Linked DNA regions of Homo sapiens: region 1 is linked to region 2. The links are contacts of gene promoters, found by promoter capture Hi-C in human tissues and cell types (Jung and others, 2019). All regions are on one chromosome and are shown on one strand. The core of a region is centred on a gene start or on the middle of the fragment in contact, and the rest is flanking DNA. Distances in the headings are between cores, read along the strand shown. Region 1 holds the start of EPB42 (erythrocyte membrane protein band 4.2). Region 2 overlaps STARD9 (StAR related lipid transfer domain containing 9).

The links. Contacts are between HindIII fragments. The study calls those that stand out against the background at their distance.
Region 1: the fragment with the promoter of EPB42 here is called in contact with a fragment that was not itself captured in region 2 in 1 of the 25 tissues and cell types used here (lymphoblastoid cells).

Annotation. Positions count from the first base shown.
Region 1 is chr15:43,219,714-43,223,886 of GRCh38, forward strand. It overlaps EPB42 (erythrocyte membrane protein band 4.2), which reads right to left and starts at 1,305. Exons shown (of 13, transcript NM_001114134.2): 1 at 1,103-1,305. The coding sequence starts at 1,112. The HindIII fragment of the contact is 9,374 bases long and covers 1-4,173 here.
Region 2 is chr15:42,689,079-42,693,559 of GRCh38, forward strand. It overlaps STARD9 (StAR related lipid transfer domain containing 9), which reads left to right. Exons shown (of 33, transcript NM_020759.3): 23 at 1-4,481. Among named protein-coding and RNA genes, the nearest start is that of CDAN1, 46 kb to the right of the region's middle. The HindIII fragment of the contact is 5,901 bases long and covers 1-4,481 here.

The DNA of each region.
Region 1 (4,173 bases), core at 55-2,554, 530 kb after region 2:
GAGGCGGAGGATCACGAGGTCAAGAGATCGAGACCATCCTGGCCAACAAGGTGAAACTCCGTCTCTACTAAAAATACAAAAAATTAGCCGGGCATGGTGGTGGGTGCCTGTAGTCCCAGCTACTCAGAAGGCTGAGGCAGGAGAATCACTTGAACCCAGGAGGCGGAGGTTGCAGTGAGCCGAGATTGCGCCACTGAACTCTAGCCTGGTGACAGAGAGAGACTCCGTTTAAAAAAAAAAAAAAAAAGGACAATTTATTGGTGTCTGCCCTATTTTCACAAGACGTGGCTGAGATTATTGACTTAATTCACCCAGAGTTCTTTTTCTTCCCTTCTCAGCTGTTGGTCTCAGCGTCAGTTGCCCTCCGCACACCAGACCAACCAGGGCAGGGGAGTGAGGCAGTTTCTATAGCAACAGAACCACAGCTGCACCCCACTGTCCCCACACCTCTGCACCATTTCCCTCTGCCTACCCGCTTGCTTCTCCCAGGACACAAAACAGCCAGGCAATTCCCAGGCCAGGATATAATAATTCCTGCCAAGAGTGCTGCGACTCTGACCACCTGTGTTGGTTTCTTGCTTTGTGTCTGCCTCTGCCCCTTTTAGGTGGATTCCCTGACTCCCTCCTCTCCTTCTCTCCCATTTGGTGTAGAAGCTGTGACACCTTCATGCTACCCAGGGTGTCTCTCATTTGTATCAGTAAGCTGTGAACACTTATGCTATGATGACCTTGGGATAAGAATATAAATCCATGTTAACCACCATCACCATCTCACCATCATACAACTATCATGACCAGTTTACCCCAACATGCTACCCCATAACCACCCCACAGCAACATCACCATCACCTCCGCCTCCGCCTCCACCAGCACCCATCATCACACCACGCTCCACAGCCAGCTCACTATCACCTCTACCAGCACCCACCTACCACACCCCCCCCCCACAGCCACCTCATTATCACCAGTACCCCCTCCCCCACCATAGTTATACCACCATCTCCCCGCCTACCATCCATCCCACTTCCTTTAATGAAAACAGGTGATGCTGCGGGGGCTGCATACAGTCCAGCAAGCCCTGTCGAGCGCTGGCTTGGCTCACCCTGTCCCATGGTTGCAGGCCGCTCCTCTTATCCACTTGGCCGCAGAAAGCGCCTCTCTCAAACTGTTGCTTCTGGGCTCCTTCTGGGCTTTCTGTCTTCCAGACAGAAAATATGAAGGCACTTTTGTTGGCTTAAGAATCTGGAAATAGCAAAACCTCCCCCCACTACTCCTGTGAGCACCCTGACATGTTTCTTCTCTCCTACTCCCTCTCTGCTGGTATCTCCTGGACCAGTTACTGGGAGTAACCCTGTTCATTTTATCTCTTGTGCCAGGAGGCCCAGGCAGGAATACGCCTGGCAGCCCTGGGGGAGGGGGTGGGATGGGGAAGACCTGCCAACTAGAGAAGCCTAGAACAAACCTTGAAGCCTCTTGCTTCAGTGGTCTCAAGAGACTCTCAGAGATGTTATCTGGACTGCACTGGAAGACTCTGGAAGAGAGGAGGCCACAAACAGGAGTCCCATATCCAACTCCAAATCTCAGGCCCTAAACGTGACAGGGGCTGCAAGTTGCAAGATGTTCATGGGCTGTTTTGATAATAGAGAGAACACGTGCATCTGCAATTTATCTGTGTGAAAAAGATAAGGAAGTAGAATTTGTTGGTGAAAAATAAATGTATTAAAAGTAGAAGCTGGGGCCCCAACTCTTCCAAGCCTACCTGGTCTGGGACCCTCTACCAGAGAAGGTTGGGAACTATCTTGGGACTCAGGCCCTATGTCTTTTCAATTTTTCTTTCTTTAGTTCCTGAAGAGACAAGAGAAGGATCTCATATTTGGCCCTACCTGGGCTTGTGAAACTGTGTTACCAGAAGCACTTTCAGGGCAGCTGTACTTGCTGCATATACATGAGACGTCTATAGAATGATATAAAACACACTGCCAAAAATATTGGTTGCCTGTGGGGAGGGGATCTGGGCAGTGGGGTAGAAAGGTTATCTTTCTGCTGTTTACTCTTTTATACTTTTAAAACTTTGAACTTTTGAACTCATTTGAAGGATCTTATTATGTAAAAAAAAAAAAAAAAAAAAAAAATGAAACTTCTGCCTTTCACTAGCGCAGTGGCTCATGCCTGTAATCCCAGCACTTTGGGAAGCCAAGTCAGGCGGATCACCTGAGGTCAGGAGTTCGAGACCAGCCTGGCCAATATGGTGAAACCCTCTCTCTACTAAAAATACAAAAATTAGCTGGGCGTGGTGGCAGGCGCCTGTACTCCCAGCTACTCAGGAGGCTAAGGCAGAAGAATTGCTTGAACCTGGGAGGCTGAGGTTGCAGTGAGCCAAGATCGTGCCACTGCACAGCCAGCATGGAGCAAGACTCCATCTCAGAAAAAAAAAAAAAAATCCTTCATAAGAAATGAAGAAGTTAATTTTTCATTATTTGAAGATGTCATTTTTTACCTGGAAAACTTGAATCTACTAACAATGATTATAAAAGGTAATTTAGTGAGCTGGCTAATACCAAAAGTATAGAAGCCAATAGTTTTCATACCTGCAATCAATAACAAGTCAGAAACTGTAATTAAAGACCCAACCTATAATAGCAACAACAACAAAAGGTGAAATTTCTAGAAATAAACTTAAGAAATGTGAAGTGCTGTCAGTAAAACACTTGGAAACGGTATGGAGGGACACCAAATAAGACTTGAGCAGATAAAAAGGAAGATCACCATCCTGTGTAGGACAACTCAACTTTATAAAGCGGTCATTTCTTCCCAAGTTGATCTTAAGTTTAATTCATTCCCAATAAAAACACCAAGATTGTTTTTTGAAACTAGGTAAACTGATTCTAAGGTTCAAAAGGAAATTTCTAAGATAATAATAAAGTGTGACCAGCCTTCCTAGATATGAACACATAATATGATATTACTGTAATTGAAAAGTCCATAGATCAAAATACATGTATTAAATGTATGCTAAATGTGGCACTTCAAATCCATGGGGAAATGAAGGATTTATCAGTAAATGATTTTGGGACAACTAGCTTGTCAAAATACAGTTGGCTTCCTATCTTATGCCACACATCAAAATAAATTTCAGATGGATCAAAACTCTTATTAAATTCTTAAAGTAATAGAAGAAAAAATGAGACACTTCTTCTTAAGTTAACTTGGGAAAACCTTTAAAAATATTATGCAAAACTCAGAAGACAAAAAGAAAATACTGAGAAATTTGATTCCTTAAAAATTTTTAAATGGAAATATTCACAATGTTAAAAGATATGCAGATGGGGCACGGTGGCTCACACCTGTAATCCCAGAACTTTGGGAGGCCGAGGCGGGTGGATCACGAGGTCAGGAGTTTGAGACCAGCCTGGCCAACTTGGTGAAACCCCATGTCTACTAAAAATACAAAAAATTAGCTGAGCGTGGTGGCATGTGCCTGTAATCCCAGCTACTTGGGAGGCTGAGGCAGGAGAATAGCTTGAACCCGGGAGGTTGGAGGTTGCGGTGAGCTGAAACTGGGCCACTGTGCTCCAGCCTGGGCCACAGAGTGAGAATCCGTCTCAAAAACAAAACAAAACAAGATATGCAACAAGTTGGGTAAAATATTTGAAACTCATATCACGAAGGATTAATCTCCTTAATATAAAAGATGCCTATAAATCAATAAGAAAAGAATAACAAACTATTAGAAAAATGAGTAAAGGATATGATAGACAATTCACAGAAAAGGAAATAAAAATGTCTATCAATTCCATGGAAAGATGTTCAGCCTCATTTAATAAAAATGCAAAATAAAAACACCCTGAGATATCATTCTTTCTTCACCTATTAGATTGGCAAAGATAAAAGAGTTTGACAACATTTTGAGTTGGTGATGTTTTAGGAAAATAGTTGCTCTCTTATAATACTAGTGGGAGTGCAAATTTAAATTGGTGCAGCCTCGGCTGGGCGCGGTGGCTCATGCCTGTAATCCCAGCACTTTGGGAGGCAGGTGAATCACTTGAGGTCAGGAGTTCGAAACCAGCCAGGCCAAGATGGTGAAAACCAATCTCTACTAAAAATACAATAATTAGCCAGACATGGTGGTGGGTGCCTGTAATCTCAGCTACTCAGGAGACTGAGACATGAAAA
Region 2 (4,481 bases), core at 1,578-4,077:
GCCAGCAAGCCAAGGCAGAAGGCAGAGAAGGAGACTGAGGACGTCGGACTGACCAGCGGTGTTTCCTTAGCACCTGTTTCCCTGCCGAGGGTGCCCAGTCCAGAGCCTAGGCTGTTGGAGCCCTCTGACCATGCATCCATGTGCCTGGCCATCTTGGAGGAGATCAGACAGGCAAAGGCCCAGAGAAAGCAGCTTCATGACTTTGTGGCCAGGGGCACAGTCCTTTCTTACTGTGAAACTTTACTAGAACCCGAATGTTCTTCAAGGGTTGCTGGCAGGCCTCAGTGTAAACAAATAGACCAGTCATCATCAGACCAGACCAGGAATGAGGGTGAAGCACCGGGATTTCATGTGGCATCTCTATCTGCTGAAGCAGGGCAGATAGATCTGTTACCTGATGAGAGGAAAGTCCAGGCCACATCTCTGTCTGCAGACAGCTTTGAATCTCTGCCCAATACGGAAACTGACAGAGAGCCATGGGATCCTGTGCAGGCTTTCTCCCATGCTGCTCCTGCTCAAGACAGGAAACGTCGTACTGGAGAACTGAGGCAGTTCGCGGGAGCAAGTGAACCATTTATATGTCACTCTAGTTCTTCTGAAATCATAGAGAAAAAGAAAGATGCAACCAGAACACCTTCCTCAGCTGATCCTTTGGCCCCAGACAGTCCTCGTTCTTCAGCACCTGTGGAGGAGGTCAGGAGGGTAGTATCAAAGAAGGTAGTGGCTGCCTTACCTTCTCAGGCCCCTTATGATGATCCTAGAGTGACTCTGCATGAGCTAAGTCAGTCAGTTCCGCAGGAGACTGCAGAGGGCATACCCCCTGGCAGTCAGGACAGCAGCCCAGAGCATCAGGAACCCAGAACTCTAGACACCACATATGGAGAAGTTTCAGATAATTTGTTAGTGACTGCACAGGGAGAAAAAACAGCCCATTTTGAAAGTCAGTCTGTGACCTGTGATGTTCAGAATTCTACAAGTGCCTCAGGGCCTAAGCAAGACCATGTCCAATGCCCTGAGGCTTCTACTGGCTTTGAAGAAGGTAGGGCAAGTCCCAAACAAGATACCATTCTGCCTGGAGCTCTGACAAGGGTTGCACTGGAAGCTCCCACACAGCAGTGTGTGCAGTGTAAGGAGAGTGTTGGGTCTGGGTTGACAGAAGTCTGCAGGGCTGGCAGCAAACATTCCAGGCCAATTCCACTGCCAGATCAAAGACCAAGCGCAAATCCTGGGGGAATTGGGGAGGAAGCCCCATGTAGACACCCAAGGGAAGCTTTAGATGGCCCTGTCTTCTCAAGGAACCCTGAAGGCAGCAGGACTCTCAGCCCGTCTAGAGGGAAAGAGAGCAGAACTCTTCCTTGCCGACAGCCATGCAGTTCTCAACCTGTTGCTACTCATGCTTATTCCTCCCATTCCTCTACTTTACTGTGTTTTAGAGATGGTGACCTAGGGAAGGAGCCTTTCAAGGCTGCCCCACATACTATCCACCCACCCTGTGTAGTACCTTCCAGGGCCTATGAAATGGATGAGACAGGAGAGATCTCTAGGGGACCTGATGTGCACTTGACACATGGCCTTGAGCCCAAAGATGTTAACAGGGAATTTAGGCTAACAGAGAGCAGCACTTGTGAGCCTTCTACTGTGGCTGCTGTCCTATCTCGAGCTCAAGGCTGCAGATCCCCTTCTGCTCCTGACGTGAGGACAGGTTCCTTCAGCCACTCAGCTACTGATGGAAGCGTGGGGTTAATAGGGGTTCCTGAGAAAAAGGTTGCTGAGAAGCAAGCAAGCACAGAACTTGAGGCTGCCTCTTTCCCTGCAGGCATGTACTCTGAGCCCCTGAGGCAGTTTAGGGACAGCTCTGTAGGTGACCAGAATGCACAGGTGTGTCAAACCAATCCAGAACCACCTGCAACAACTCAGGGACCACACACCCTGGATTTAAGTGAAGGGTCTGCTGAGAGCAAGTTGGTGGTAGAGCCACAGCATGAATGTTTAGAAAATACCACTAGATGTTTTTTGGAAAAGCCACAATTTTCCACTGAGTTGAGGGATCACAATCGCTTGGATTCCCAAGCCAAGTTTGTAGCAAGGTTAAAACATACCTGCAGCCCCCAGGAAGACAGTCCCTGGCAGGAAGAAGAGCAGCACAGAGACCAGGCTTCAGGTGGTGGAGAAGGCTTCGCCCAGGGTGTGAATCCCCTTCCTGATGAAGATGGCTTAGATGGCTGTCAGATTTTAGATGCTGGGAGAGAGGAGGTGGCTGTGGCCAAGCCTCCTGTGTCCAAGATTTTATCACAGGGCTTCAAAGACCCAGCCACTGTGTCCTTGAGGCAAAATGAAACACCGCAGCCTGCTGCTCAGAGGAGTGGCCACCTCTACACTGGCAGAGAGCAGCCAGCACCCAACCACAGGGGCTCACTTCCTGTGACTACAATCTTCTCTGGCCCCAAACACTCCAGGTCCTCCCCCACACCACAGTTCTCAGTTGTCGGCTCTTCTCGTTCTCTTCAGGAGCTGAACTTGAGTGTGGAGCCTCCTTCCCCTACAGACGAAGATACACAGGGGCCTAACAGATTGTGGAACCCACATCTCAGGGGCTATTCCTCAGGAAAGTCAGTGGCAAGAACATCTCTGCAGGCTGAGGACAGCAATCAGAAAGCCTCATCTCGCTTGGATGATGGGACTACCGATCACAGGCACCTGAAGCCTGCCACCCCTCCTTATCCAATGCCTTCCACTCTCTCACACATGCCAACCCCTGATTTCACGACCAGCTGGATGTCTGGTACTTTGGAACAAGCCCAACAGGGAAAGCGAGAGAAACTGGGTGTCCAGGTTAGGCCAGAAAATTGGTGCTCTCAGATGGACAAAGGAATGCTGCACTTTGGCTCCAGTGACATCAGTCCCTATGCGCTGCCGTGGCGTCCGGAGGAGCCTGCACGTATCAGCTGGAAGCAGTATATGTCTGGCAGTGCAGTCGATGTTTCCTGCAGCCAGAAGCCCCAGGGGCTGACACTATCAAATGTGGCCCGGTGCTCCAGCATGGACAATGGCCTAGAAGACCAGAACTCCCCTTTCCACTCCCACCTCAGCACTTACGCCAATATTTGTGATCTGTCAACCACACACAGCAGCACTGAGAATGCCCAGGGTTCAAATGAGGCCTGGGAAGTATTCCGAGGGAGTTCTTCAATTGCCTTAGGAGACCCCCACATCCCGACGAGCCCTGAAGGAGTAGCCCCCACTTCGGGTCATGACAGAAGGCCTCAGTTCAGGGGCCCTTCTGGTGAAGCAGACTGTCTGAGGAGTAAGCCCCCCTTGGCCAAAGGAAGTGCTGCAGGTCCAGTGGATGAGATTATGCTGCTGTATCCATCAGAGGCAGGCTGCCCTGTGGGACAGACCAGGACGAACACATTCGAACAGGGCACACAGACCCTCGGCAGCAGGCGCCACTGGAGCAGCACTGACATCTCCTTTGCTCAGCCTGAAGCCAGTGCAGTATCAGCCTTTGATCTGGCCTCATGGACCAGCATGCACAATCTGTCTCTCCACCTCTCACAGCTCCTGCACAGTACCTCAGAGCTGCTTGGGAGTCTCTCCCAGCCAGATGTGGCCAGAAGGGAGCAGAACACCAAGAGGGACATCCCAGATAAAGCCCCACAGGCCCTGATGATGGATGGCTCTACTCAGACCACTGTGGATGAGGGCAGCCAGACTGACCTCACCTTACCCACCCTGTGCCTCCAGACTTCAGAGGCTGAACCTCAGGGAGCCAATGTGATCCTTGAAGGGCTAGGCTCAGATACCTCGACTGTGTCTCAAGAAGAGGGAGATGTGCCAGGGGTACCTCAGAAGAGAGAGGCAGAGGAAACAGCACAGAAAATGGCTCAGCTCCTCTATCTTCAGGAAGAAAGCACTCCCTACAAGCCCCAGAGCCCTTCAATACCCTCATCCCACTTGAGGTTTCAGAAAGCCCCCGTTGGGCAGCATCTTCCTTCTGTGAGCCCCTCAGTTTCTGATGCTTTCCTGCCTCCCAGCTCCCAGCCAGAGGAGTCATATTGCTTAGTTGTCAGCAGTCCCAGTCCCAGCTCCCCTCATTCCCCAGGGCTCTTTCCCAGTACTTCCGAGTATCCTGGGGACTCCAGGGTCCAGAAGAAGCTGGGCCCCACAAGTGCTTTGTTCGTGGACAGGGCCTCCTCCCCAATCCTCACTCTTAGTGCCAGCACCCAAGAGCCGGGTCTTTCCCCAGGCTCTTTGACCCTCTCAGCCCCTTCAACTCACCCTGTTGAAGGCCACCAGAAGCTTGACTCCAGCCCAGACCCTGTTGATGCCCCAAGGACTCCAATGGATAATTATTCCCAAACCACTGACGAGTTAGGTGGCTCCCAGAGAGGTAGAAGTTCCTTACAAAGGAGTAATGGGAGATCCTTCCTTGAGTTGCACTCCCCACACAGCCCACAGCAGAGTCCAAAACTCCAATTTAG